Regions from separate parts of the Homo sapiens genome. Here regions 2, 3 and 4 are each linked to region 1. Evidence: promoter capture Hi-C in human tissues and cell types (Jung and others, 2019). All regions are on one chromosome and are shown on one strand. The core of a region is centred on a gene start or on the middle of the fragment in contact, and the rest is flanking DNA. Distances in the headings are between cores, read along the strand shown. Region 1 holds the start of DZANK1 (double zinc ribbon and ankyrin repeat domains 1). Region 2 has its middle 9.5 kb from the start of ZNF133-AS1. Region 3 overlaps DZANK1 (double zinc ribbon and ankyrin repeat domains 1). Region 4 overlaps SEC23B (SEC23 homolog B, COPII component).

What was found. Contacts are between HindIII fragments. The study calls those that stand out against the background at their distance.
Region 2: a fragment that was not itself captured here is called in contact with the fragment with the promoter of DZANK1 in region 1 in 9 of the 25 tissues and cell types used here (H1 embryonic stem cells, IMR-90 fibroblasts, heart left ventricle and 6 more).
Region 3: a fragment that was not itself captured here is called in contact with the fragment with the promoter of DZANK1 in region 1 in 3 of the 25 tissues and cell types used here (IMR-90 fibroblasts, liver and spleen).
Region 4: a fragment that was not itself captured here is called in contact with the fragment with the promoter of DZANK1 in region 1 in 5 of the 25 tissues and cell types used here (H1 embryonic stem cells, heart left ventricle, liver and 2 more).

The regions. Positions count from the first base shown.
Region 1 is chr20:18,464,935-18,468,279 of GRCh38, forward strand. DZANK1 (double zinc ribbon and ankyrin repeat domains 1) reads right to left here and starts at 2,096. Exons shown (of 21, transcript NM_001367614.1): 1 at 2,062-2,096; 2 at 316-443. The coding sequence starts at 424. POLR3F (RNA polymerase III subunit F) reads left to right here and starts at 2,456. Exons shown (of 9, transcript NM_006466.4): 1 at 2,456-2,634. The coding sequence starts at 2,573. RefSeq lists enhancers at 1,976-2,594, 2,217-2,536. The HindIII fragment of the contact is 23,548 bases long and covers 1-3,345 here.
Region 2 is chr20:18,367,062-18,370,406 of GRCh38, forward strand. No RefSeq gene overlaps it. Among named protein-coding and RNA genes, the nearest start is that of ZNF133-AS1, 9.5 kb to the left of the region's middle. The HindIII fragment of the contact is 8,499 bases long and covers 1-3,345 here.
Region 3 is chr20:18,395,134-18,398,478 of GRCh38, forward strand. It overlaps DZANK1 (double zinc ribbon and ankyrin repeat domains 1), which reads right to left. Exons shown (of 21, transcript NM_001367614.1): 15 at 1,339-1,413. The region is part of intron 1 of LOC124904877 (a long non-coding RNA gene); the gene reads left to right. Among named protein-coding and RNA genes, the nearest start is that of LINC00851, 18 kb to the left of the region's middle. The HindIII fragment of the contact is 4,316 bases long and covers 1-3,345 here.
Region 4 is chr20:18,534,999-18,538,343 of GRCh38, forward strand. SEC23B (SEC23 homolog B, COPII component) reads left to right here. Exons shown (of 20, transcript NM_006363.6): 12 at 655-744. Among named protein-coding and RNA genes, the nearest start is that of SEC23B, 29 kb to the left of the region's middle. The HindIII fragment of the contact is 5,606 bases long and covers 1-3,345 here.

The DNA.
Region 1 (3,345 bases), core at 846-3,345:
AAAGTTCTGGGATTACTGGTGTGAACCACCGCACCCGGCCAGCACCGGGACATCTTACCTTGGCTAAGGTAAGTCAAGACATTGCTGAAACTATACAAATGAAAGGTTGGTCAAAGCTAACCATTTTAATCTAAATGTATACCACTCTATAAACCATCAATGTACAGCACTGTTTCAAATTTTAGAAGTTTTACAAATTTCCCAAAAAGCTGAGCAAAGAGTGAGAAAGCAGGCAAAGAGATAAACCAGCAACCAGATAACACAAGAAATATGACAATGTTATTTTAAACAATTTCAAACATATGTGATTCTTACCTGATTTCATTTCCAAAAGCGTATTGTTATCAATTTCATGGTTAGCTTTTCCAGGCTGAGGCACTCGTAATGGTATGATCTGAGGGACACACACTGAACCAGCAGTCATTTTCTCTCTCTCTCTCTCTCTCTATATATATATACATATAAATTCCAATGTACACAAAAGCTGAAGAGCAGCACTTAATTTAAATGCAGCAAAACTAGTTAAAACGAGAGAATACTGTTAACATGGCACTACAAATATTATTCCCTTTTTAATTGAAATAATAATTACATTTCATCTGTATTTGCTGTTGAGGTCTTGTGTGGGGTTTTGATTATCTAAATACCTCACTTCTGCGAAAGGAGCATGAATGAATGAGATGGGGAAAAGAAAGAAGTTACTTTAAAAGGACAAATTAAATGAGTAAGGCAAAACAGAGACTATCACTAACGCTCTGACTTGAGTTCCCTGTAAATCATTATCGCCTTTTCCTGCCTCTGGTGTGTGTCAGCTCTCTTGGCTTCAGGGCAAGTCATCATACAAGGGGAACAGAAGTAATTCTGTGTGTACCACAAAATGTTAGTTAGAGCTAACTTTTTTGGGAAAGCTCCGGGTTCACAGCCTTGCCATTATCACCAGAGCAGTTCTAGTATTTGAAAGCTGCAAAGACACTTTAGAAGGACTGCAGAGTACTACTTCTCAGTGGAAAGGAAGTTTGCAAGAATATAAACAGTGACCAATAAACACAAGCCTCCCGTTTCATCTACTGTATTTATAAATCCTGGTATTAATAATTAACTACCAGTATGAAAGCCTTACTGGTCTTTTTGGAGGTGAGGGTGGGGAGGAAGGTTGTCATAATTAATGCACAGAAGGTTTCAGGGGGAAAAAACGCTCACCTTAACACAACAACCATTTACATCTCTGTATTGCCTTTTCAAATTTCATTAATAATCCATAGATTTTGCCCAATTATAATCTACATATTCATTCCATTTTTATAGTCTACTTCTTGCATTCTCACTGTATTATTTAGTTTTCCCTGTACTTATTTATCCATTTGTGGCTGGGCATTTAGGCTATTTCTAGTTTCTTTTTAGTTTTGCCTGTTGCAGTTCTAATAATGCTGATCTGAACATGTCTGCAGTTTGAGCTTTGTCACAGACTGTATTCTCAAAAATGGGGTACCTAAATTTAAGGGGTGAACTTAATGCCTTGTTGGATAGTTCCGGATCTAGGGCCAAGAATATAAACTACAGATACTGACAGCACAACAATAGCTCCTACGGGAGTGTGGCTGGACTTGAGACTTGCCCATAGTCGCATTTCCATTTAAGTGAAAGGCAGATAAAATAAAAGTAGTTGAAAAATTCTAAATAAAAAATATGTAGGAGAGGAAGTAATTCGCGAGCGTCAACTAGCAGCTGCCCTTAGGAAGCTGGGGTGGCCAGTGGGCCCCACGCAAAGGGAATCAAGAAAAAAGGCGGATCCGCCAGGCCCAAATGGCAACGTGCAGTCAACAGGATCCCCAGACCCCTCAACTCTCCCAACGTGGACCGCCCCCTCGCAGCCCGGATCCGGAATCCCGTTTGGTTGTTCCCGCCCATCAGGGGCTGCCAAGGACACCTGCATCCTTTCGGCTGGAGTAAGGGAAGCTCTTCCCCTCCTCTAGCCGCCCTCCTCTTCCTCTAACCGCGGGGCCCGGGATCGGGACCCCTAATGCATCTCTGCCGCGCCCAACCCAGTCGCCAGCCTCTCACCGCCTCTTGCCTCCTCCTTCGCCGCCGCCCGGGTTACCACAGACGCGGCGAGCCGCGCCCCGCCCACTGGGTGCTGGGCAGATGATTGGTGGAGACTCAGCTTCTTAGCAACTAGACCGGCCCCTGCCGCTCCGCAGGGAGCCTGGTACCCGCCTGGAGTTCCTTTCCCAGTGCTTTCCCATAGGCATCTAAGAATATTCCTTCACAGAGTTGCCAAGTGCTAAAAGTTGGTTTCCCAACTCAGAATGAAGGAACCAGGCTTGTGCGTCCGATGGGCATTGACATTCTGGAAAACAAGAATAAGAAGCTGTAGCGGCGCCTGTAAGTGGGCCGGAGCAGGCGCAGCTTGGCCACCTCCCGCCGAAAGGCAAGGAAGGACCGGCTGCGACACGAGGAAGAAGGCCCCTCGGCCTCAGCAGAGCGCTATCCTCCACTGGTTCCCCGGGTTCCCCGGCTTGCTACCGGGCTGCTCCGTGCATCTTTCCCCCCAGGCGTCAGGAACTGCGCCCTCATGGCGGAGGTGAAGGTGAAGGTGCAGCCGCCTGACGCGGATCCGGTCGAAATAGAAAACAGGTAAACCAGTGAGGCTCCGGCTTGGCACTCCATCAGGCGCCCAGTCATTTGGGCAGCTGGACCCCTTCTCCGGGATCCCTTGGGAGTGGCCGGAGCGGGTTAGGTGAGCACGCGGGAAAAACGATTGCGGGGTTCTGGACCCACTTGTTCCTTCCCATCCTGGGAGAGCAGAACTCAAGAAGTTCAAAATGGGTTTGACAGCTTGCAACTTTGTGTAGCTGGCTGGCTTTGCCCTGATACTTTTGGGGAAGTTGTGATGACGTGCTGCCTTCCTACTTTGACGCGATCAGTGCTTTGAGAGGAGCCCTCGGCTTTCTTTCCCTGTAGAACACTTGTGAATACATGTTCTGATCCAGGATCGCTCTTGTCACTAAGGGAACGTCTATGACAAAACGTTTAGGCGGAGTTAGGGCGCAGTTGGTGATTACGAAGTAACATTAAGCCAGGTGGTTTCAGTGCAGTATTGAACTCAAGACTTTTAGGACACCCAAAGCCTCTGCCACTTTTATTTTTATTTGTTTGTTTGTGAGACAGAGTCTCGCTCTGTCGCCAGGCTGGAGTGCAGTGGCGCGATCTCGGTTCACTGCAATCTCCGCCTCCCGGGTTCAAGCGATTCCCCTGCCTTAGCCTCCCGAGTAGCTGGGACTACAGGCTCGCGCCACCACGCCCAGCTAATTTTTTATGTTTTAGTAGAGACGGGGTTTCACCATG
Region 2 (3,345 bases), core at 585-3,084, 98 kb before region 1:
CTGACTTAGCAAGATTCTCACTAAAACTCAGCAATGCAGGCCCAAGAAGGACGAAAGCCAAGGTTGAGGCCTAGAGGGCTTAGATGAGCCTAACTAAAGTTTAGTCAAGGAGAGTCTTTGGCATTACTCAGAAAAGGAAAGAATAAGTGCCCAGATTTCATCAGTTTCTTTTTTCATGCTTTGAGAAAAAGGGAAAGAACATTTGAGGATGGAACTAGCAAGAAGAAATAATTAAAACACCACAACAGCTGGCAGTGGGATTGTGGATCAAGCTTGAGTGTGGATCAAGCTTGATTTATATAAAATCAAGTTCAAGAATGCCTCTCCCTGCTGGAGATTTAATCATGTTTGGGAAAGGTTTCCCCAAATCCCAAATTTCCCCTTTTTCTCTTCTCTGTTTGATGGGGTTGCAGGGAGGAAGTTTCTGCTGAGGAGAGGCAAGATACAGGGGAGAAAGTGGAGGTTGAGGGTGGAGAGGAAAAAAATTGTTAGTATTGTTTGGATCAGTAGTAAAATTTCTGAGGCTCTCACTACATTGGGAAGGAATAATTTAAAAACTGAGCCATTTATCACCACCCATTAAATCAGGGGCCTGGGAACTGACACTCATAAAAATTAAAATAAATAAATATTGAATTAATGTCTGCTAAACTTTTTTTTAATCAAGGTAATTAATGAATGAACTAATACCTCTCTACTTCTGAATAATTTCCTTGGTTTCAATTTCATTTAGTTCTGCTCTGATCTTTGTTATTTTGTTTCTTCTGCTAGCTTTGGGATTGCTTTCTTCTTGCTCTTTTTAGTTCCTTGAGATGTGACACTAGGTTGTTAATTCGTGATTTTTTTTTTTTTTAGAGACAGGGTCTTGCTATGTTGCCCAGGCTGATCTGAAACTCCTGGGCTCAAGCAATCCTCCTGCCTTGGTCTCCCAAAGTGCTGGGATTACAGAGTGAACTATTTTTTTGAAGTAGGCATTTAATGCTATAAATTTTCCTCTTAGCACTGCTTTTGCTGTATTCCAGAGGTTTTACTATGTTGTGTCTCCATTTTCATTTGTTTCAAAACATTTTAAAATTTCCATCTTAATTTAATTATTAATTCAAAGATCATTTAGAAATGTGTTGTTTAATTTTCAGGTATTTGTGTAGTTTCACAAGTTCCTCTTGGTATTGATTTCCAGTTTTATTCTGCTATGGTCTGAGAAGATACTTGATACAATTTCAATTTTTTAAACTATACTTTAAGTTCTGGGATACATGTGCAGAACATGCAGGTTTGCTACATAGGCATACATGTGCCGTGGTGGTTTGCTGCACCCATCAACCCATCATCTACATTAGGTATTTCTTTTTTAAAAATGTATTGAGACTTGTTTGATGAACTAACACATGGTCTGTCTTGGAGCATGTACCATGTGCCGATGAGAAGAATTTATGTTCTGCAGTTGTTAGGTAGAAGGTTCTGTAAATGTTTATTAGGTCCATTTAAAGTCCAACTTAAGTCCAGTGTTTCTTTGTTAATTTTCTGTTTTGATAATCTGTCTAGTGTTGTGAGTGGGGTATTGAAATCCCCTCCCCACAGCTTATGATTTATTGCTGTCTATCTCTTTCTTTAGGTCTAGTAATATTTGTTTTATGATTCTGGGTGCTCCAGTGTTAGATGCATATATATTTAGGATTGTTATCCACTTGTTGAAGTGATCCTTTTATCATTATGTAAGACCTTGTCTTTTTTTATTCTGTTTTTTATTTAAAGTCCATTTCATCTGACACAAGTATAGCTACTTCTGCTCACCTCTGATTTCCATTTGCTTGGAATATTTTTTCCATCTCTTTACCTTCAGTTTATAAGCATCTTTATCAGTATGGTTAATTTCTTGTAAGCAGCATATAGTTGGTGCAGGCTTTTCTTATCTATTTTACCCATCTGTATCTTTTAAGTGGAGCACTTGGCCCATTTATATTCAACATTAATATTGATATGTGAGGTTTCATTCCTGACATAATGTTAATTGTTATCTAGTATTTTTTGTGGGTTTTTTTTTCTTAATCTGCTTGTCTTTGTGGTCTAGAACCAAAAACGAGCCTGAATTCAAAGCAAACCTAAGCAAAAAGAACAAAGCTAGAAGCATCACATTACCTGAGTTATACTACAAGGCTACACTAACCAAAGCAGCATGGTCTGGTATAAAAATAAATGTACAGATGAATGGAATAGAATAGGAGCCCAGAAATAAAGCCACATATCTAAAGCCAGCTGATCTTTGACAAAGTTGACAAAAACATACGCTGGGGGGAAAGACACCCTTTTCAATAAATGTGGCTGGGAAAACTGGATTGTCACATGCAGAAGAATGAAACTAGACTCCCTAATACCCACCATATACAAAAATAAATTCAAGCCTATAGTCCCAGCTAATCAGGAGTCTGAGGCAGGAGGTTGAGATGGCAGTGAGCCATGATCCTGCCACTGTACTCCAGCTTGAGTGACAGAGCAAGACCCTGCCTCAAAAATTAAAAAAAAAAAACTCAAGATGGATTAAAGACCTAAATATAAAAGCAGAAACTGAAAAAATTATAAGAATTCCTAGGGAAAACTTTTCTGGTCAAAGCAAAGAATTCCTGACTAAGACATCAAAAGCACAGGAAACAAAAACAAAAATTGACAAATGAAACTTAATTAAACTAAGAAGTTTTTGCATAGCAAAAGAAATAATCAACAGAGTGAACAATCTGCAGAACAAGAGAAAATATTTGCACACTATACATCCAATAGGAGAGTAATATCCAGAATTTACAAGAGGTTCAAACAACTCAACAAAAACCTCTCAACTCTATTAAAAAGTGGGCAAAGATTTTGCCACATTTTCTTAATCCAGTCTATCATTGTTGGACATTTGGGTTGGTTCCAAGTTTTTGCTATTGTTTTGGAATACTATGCAGCCATAAAAAATGATGAGTTCATGTCCTTTGTAGGGACATGGATGAAGCTGGAAACCATCATTCTCAGCAAACTATTGCAAGGACAAAAAACCAAACACCGCATGTTCTCACTCATAGATGGGAATTGAACAATGAGAACACATGGACACAGGAAGGGGAACATCACACACTGGGGCCTGTTGTGGGGGGGGGGGCGGGGGGAGGGATAGCATTAGGAGATATACCTAATGTTAAATGATGAGTTAATGGGTGCAGCACACCAACATGGCACATGTATACATATGTACTAACCTGCATGTTGTGCACATGTACCCTAAAACTTAAAGTATAATAAAAAAAGTGTCAACTATGACAATATCATACACTAATTTGACTGCCCTAAAAATCTCCTGTAATCCACATA
Region 3 (3,345 bases), core at 633-3,132, 70 kb before region 1:
GGTGATCACTTGAGGCCAGGAGTTCGAGACCAGCCTGGCCAACATGGTGAAACCCCATCTCTACTAAAAATACAAAACTTAGCTGGGTGTGGTGGTGTGACCCTGTAATCCCAGCTACACAGGCAGCTGAGGAACGAGAATTGCTGGAACCCAGGAGGGGGAGGTTTGCAGTGAGCCAAGATTGTGCTACTGCACTCCAGCCTGGTTGACAGAGCAAGAATCTGTCTCAAAACAAAGCAAAACAAAACCAAACCAAAACAAAACAATGACCTGGGAACAGTTACTCCAATTCTACTTGTGAGATAGCTAGCACATTGGAGGTGCTGCTGGTGGCCTGCCCCATTCCCACTAGCTGGCCAGGTTACTCACCCCAGCTGTTGTGTAGCTGCTAAGAGCTTACTGCTGGACCTCCTTCCCCAGCAAAGTGCCCTCAGTAGGTGGATGCTGCTTTGCCCTAGAGGTCATGCTCCCTCTCCTCCTTGCCTCAACTGGGGACAACTTTGTGGTTTAATTCATTCTCCAGAGTTCCCCTTGGATCAGGCTAAAGCTCAACTTTGCTTTTGTCTACCTGCTCATTCAGTCCCTTCCCCTTCCTTGACCTGCTTCTCTCACTTCCCTTCCCCTGAAGTTCCTCTCTGACCCAAGCTCTGCTCTAGTCACAACAATTAAAAAGAGCAGTTAGTGCTTTATTTGGTTTCAAAGCACATTCATGTGCATTAGCTCGTTAGATACTCCCAGCCTCCCCATGAGTTAGACAGGGCCCATGCTTCTATCCCAATTTCAACAACACCATTAGCACCTTGCCAGGGCCTAATAAATGTTAATTTCCCTCCTTTTCCTTGGCTTCTCAATTGATTGATTAATTATTCTGACTTTTTGTCCAGTGAAACTAAAGCTGCTAATGTCAATCAATTAATGTTTGAAACACATTTACAGGCTCTGTGGCAATGCCCCCGTCACCATATAAAAGGGAAGATCAAGGACACATGGCCACAAAGTTTGGTTTATTTTATAGAAGAAAATATGTCAAAGGGCATATCAGCAAATATTTTTGTTAGTCTTTCCCCAAATCAATTATATCACAGACATGCCATCAGACTTCAGTGAGTCTGAATAAGCCTGAGAACTACAGAACAACTCCTGTTCTCACTATATCTTCATGTGCCTGTCTGAGGTTTAACTTGTTTATCTAATTCTATGAAATTGCTTGCCTCTAGTAGCATTTCATAATGTGTGAAACTTTTCCTTTCTATGGATTACACAGAAGCATTTCTATAAATTGTCTCAATTTACTAATCGGTCAGTTCTCAAATGAATAACTTCTGGAGGCTTACTCACCTTGTTTGAGACTTGACTATAATTCAGTCTGATGCTAACTTCACAACCATCTTCGTGGACAGTAGCAGAGATAAGCTTTTAAAAGAGTTGTAGAGAGAATTCATAACTGTGGGTGTGGGACTCATTGCCTTAAGTAACAGTGTACAAATTCTGAGATGTCAAACTCTAAATTTAACCAAATATTTAATTAACACAGAAGAAAGTAGGAAAAGAAAAACAGAGCAACAAAAACTAGACGAGATAAATAGAAAACAAAGAACAAAATGGCAGATCCAAATCCAACCATATCTAAACTCTACTAATTATAAATAAACTACTCTAAAGAGACTGCCAAATTGAATAAAAAGGCAAGATCCAAATCTATGCATTCTTCAAGAGATGCACTTTAATCAAACTACATGACTAGATGTTATCACCTTGGAAAAGATATCCTGGTAGGGGGCGGGGACAGGGCTTGGTAATTAAGGGACAAGTATCACAGTTGAGCAGCTTTCTGTGTAAGTAGCAATAGGAATTTAGATTAAGCCAAGGGACAAGAAATGTTTTCATGAAGGGTCAGATAGTAAATATTTTAGGTCTTGTGGACCATATGTTCTGTATTGTGAATACTTTACTGTCATAGCACAAAGCAGCCACATAAGTAAAGGAATGGGTGCAGCTGTGATCCAATAAAATTTTATTTATAAAATTGGGCAGCGGGCCAGATTTGTCTCAACCGCCACAGTTTGCAGATCTCTGGATTAGGCTGAAGAAATTCATAAACTACCAAAATAGATTATCAAAGGAAATTGGGTAATACTGGAAAATGAGATCGTCTTGATGTTGGCCTATTTGGCAGCAGAAGAGTACACAGCCTATTTCATAAAGTTCCTTCTAGTCTTGCGACAAACAGAGGAAAGGTCCTCTCACAGAGCTGTCTTTTTATAATGGCAATGTAGTATCAAAGAAAGGACATGGGACTCTGACAGGGTCCGACAGATCTGCTTCAAATCTTGAACCCCATGAGACCCAGCAGTGTAGTCTTGGGCAGGTCACCAAACCTCTCTGAGCTTCAAAATTCCTGGGTGTCAAATAAGGCTTCTTCTGACTATCAACTGCGGTGTGAAAAACCACCCCAAACTTAGTGAAATTAAACCACCACCACTTTATTATGCTATGGATTCAGAGAGGGCATAGCAGAGATAGCTTGTCTTTGCTCCACATGTCTGAGGCCTCAGCTGGAAGACTCAAATGGCTAGAGGTGGTTGGATGTCTGGGGGCGGGAATCATCTAGAGTCTAGTCACTCATGTGGCTCATGAGCAGAGATGACTCGAGGACTGGGTTCAGCTGGCGCACCTACATGCGGCCACTCCATGTAGCTTGGGCTTCTCATAGCAGGGTGGCTGAGCTCCAAGAAGTGCTGGAGGTGAGTGTGCCAAGCAAGAGAAAGCCACATGACCTTATGTGGCCAAGCCCTGGAAGTCTCATGGCATCACTTCCATCATAGTCCGTTAGTCAAACAGTCACAGACCCGCCCAGATTCAAGGTGAGGGGACACAGATTCTACCATTTGAGGGGAAGACAGTCAAGGAATTTGTGGTTATTTTTTTTAAAGTGATCACAAAGGTAATACACCTCCCTTGCAGGTTTGCTGTGAAGGCAAGAATGATGAATACAATGCTGATGCTGGGTGCACTGTAAAATGGCAGCTGTTATGTCACTATTGCTATATATTAACAGTGTATGATTTAAGTGCACGATCTGGATGGATTAAATTGTTCTGGGACCTTTCATTCTGACTGTTAGAATTTCCAATGTGACATCTGAGCATGAGATGTTCAGAATTTTATTGTCTTAGGTCAGGTGCCCCAGAAGCAGACTCTGAGACAATATTCATGTGCAAGTGATTTATTAGAGCAGAGCTCACAAGGCAGAAGAGTAAGAAAGTGTAGAAAGCAGAGCAGGAAAGGGAAAGGAGCCAGGCAAGATGCAGTTTCAGGCAAAGTCCATGGAGGGTTCCTTCAGCC
Region 4 (3,345 bases), core at 576-3,075, 70 kb after region 1:
AGGTGAACCCCCGTGAATCCATCTATCTTATTATCTAGCTTAGGGAGTACTGACAGAACAGAGTGCACCCTCTCCGCTCTCCACCTTAGAGCTGCTGTGTGATTTCACCTTAAGGGTCTTTCTTAAGAGTCTGACTTGATTGATTCTTTGTGGATTTCAGCGTTATATACCATGTAGAGACACCCCCTGACACACCCACCCCCCCCCACACACACGTAGTATATGTGTAAACCCGGAACGATGGGTCACACCTGTAATCCCAACACTTTGGGAGGCTGAGGCGGGAGGATTGCTTGAACCCAGGAGGTCGAGGCTGCAGTGAGCTGTGATTGTGTCACGGCACTCCAGCCTGGGCAACAGAGTGAGAGACCATCTCAAAATAAATAAACATAAATAATATATATGTATAGTATATATGATGTAATAAAAATTGGTCAGAATGTTAATATAAAAAGCTTAATTTTAAAGTGTAAATGTAAATGTTAAGCCTTCATCTGTTCTCTTTTCAGGAGAAGGTTTTATTTCAACTTAAATGTTCTCCTAAAAGAAGATACTCTAAGTAGCCTGCCCTACTCAGTCAGTACTTTTCATTAGCAATTAACCACAGGGATGGTTTTCTGGTTTTGTTTTTCAAATTCCTCTTCCCACCCCCAGGAGCTTGGTGTTGGTGGCACGAGTCAGTGGAAAATCTGTGGCCTAGATCCTACATCTACACTTGGCATCTATTTTGAAGTTGTCAATCAGGTGAGTTGGATTTCTTCACATGTCTTCATGTCTTAGTGTCCTGTTTTGTGATTTATCTCAAACCAGTGGTCTCTGGTTACTTTCTTCACAAACCAATATTCCTTGGGTATTGTATTAGGCCTGATGATAGTCTGGCATGACCTTTTCTTATTTATTCCTTCAAGGGTTTAGTCGGAGTCAGGCAACAAATTACTTTTGTCCTTTTATTGTTGAACTGATAAGGTCATTAGAAGTGTAATAGATTTTACCAGTCATCATAATGTTGGTGAATTTTTTAGTGCATCGGTTCTTTCCCTAATATTTTATTATGAAAAATTCCAAACATACAGAAAAATTGAAAGAATTGTACGGTGAACACGTACTACCTAGGTGAACCCATCAACTTGATTCTGTAATTAACATTTTACTCTACTGGCATACCTTGGAAATACTGTGGGTTCAGTTCCAGACTACCACAATAAAGTGAATATTGCAATAAAGCAAGTCACATGAATATTTTGGTTTCCTATTGCATATAAAAGTTATGTTTGCACTATAGTATGTTAAGTGTTAAATAGCATTATGTCTTTGAAAACATTGTTCATTCTTGGATTAAAAAAATACTTTACAGTTGACCCTTGAGTAGTGTTGGGGTGCTGACACTGCATAGTTAAAAATCCACATATAACGGCCGGGTGCTGTGGCTCACGCCTGTAATCCCAGCACTTTGGGAGGCCGAGGCGGGCGGATCATGAGGTCAGGAGATCGAGACCATCCTGGCTAATATGGTGAAACCCTGTCTCTACTAAAAATACAAAAATTTAGCCAGGTGTGTTGGTGGGTGCCTGTAGTCCCAGCTACTTGGGAGGCTGAGGCAGGAGAATGGCGTGAACCCAGGAGGCAGAGCTTGCAGTGAGCCAAGATCGTGCCACTGCACTCCAGCCTGGGCAACAGAGCGAGACTCCATCTCAAAAAAAAAAAAAAATCCACATATAACTTTAACTCCCCCAAAACTTAACTACTAGTAGTCCACTGTTGACTGGGAACCTGACCGATAACAGTTGATTAACACATATTTTGTAAGTAATATATATTATGTCCTGTATTCTTACAATAAAGTAAGCTAGAGAAAAGAGAATGTTATTAAGAAAATCATAAGGGAAGGAAAGTGTATTTACTATTTGTTAAGTGGAAATGAACATCACAAAGTCTTCATACTCTCATCTTCATGTTCAGTAGGCTGAGGAGGAGGAGGAAGAGGAGGGTTTGGTCTTGCAGTCTTGGGTGGCAGAGGCAGAAGAAAATCCACATATAAGTGGACCTGTACAGTTCAAACCTGTGTTACTCATCATTAAAAAGTCAGGAAACAACAGGTGCTGGAGAGGATGTGGAGAAATAGGAACACTTTTACACTGTTGGTGGACTGTAAACTAGTTCAATCCTTGTGGAAGTCAGTGTGGCGATTCCTCAGGGATCTAGAACTAGAAATACCATTTGACCCAGCCATCCCATTACTGGGTATATACCCAAAGGACTATAAATCATGCTGCTATAAAGACACATGCACACGTATGTTTATTGTGGCTCTATTCACAATAGTAAAGACTTGGAACCAACCCAAATGTCCAACAATGATAGACTGGATTAAGAAAATGTGGCACATATACACCATGGAATACTATGCAGCCATAAAAAACGATGAGTTCATGTCCTTTGTAGGGACATGGATGAAATTGGAAATCATCATTCTCAGTAAACTATCGCAAGGACAAAAAAACACCGCATGTTCTCACTCATAGGTGGGAATTGGACATTGAGAACACATGGACACAGGAAGGGGAACATCACACTCTGGGGACTGTTGTGGGGTGGGGGAAGGGGGGAGGAATAACATTAGGAGATATAACTAATGCTAAATGATGAGTTAATGGGTACAGCACACCAGCATGGCACATGTATACATATGTAACTAACCTGCACATTGTGCACATGTACCCTAAAACTTAAAGTATAATAATAATAAAAAATAAATAAATAAATAAAAAAACCTGTGTTGCTCAAGGGTCAACTATATTGCTCAAAAATGTTAATGCTCATCTGATCCTTTAGTGAGTCATACTCTTTTGCTGGTGGAAGGTCTTACATTGATGTTGTTGGCTGCTGACTGATCAGGTTAGTAGTTGCTGAAGGCTGAGTGGCTGTGGCAGTTTCTTCTCTTTTTGTTTTTTTTTTAATTAAGACAAAGTCTTGTTCTATCACCCAGGCACGATCTATCACCCAGGCACGGTCTTGGCTCACTGCAACCTCCACCTCACAGGTTCAAGCCATTCTCCCACCCCAGCCTCCCGAGTAGCTAGGCTTACAGGTGCCAGCCACCATGTCTGGCTAGTTTTTGTATTTTTAGCAGAGACAAGGTTTTGCCACAATGGCCAGGCTGGTCTTGAACTGACCTCAAGTGATCTGCCTGCCTCAGCTCCCAAAGTGTTGGAATTACAGGTGTGAGCTACCACGCCCCACCTGGGAATTTCTTTTTTTTTTTTTTTTTTGAGACGGGGTCTCGCTCTGTACCCCAGGCTGGAGTGCAGTGGCATGATCTTGGCTCACTGCAAGCTTCGCCTCCTG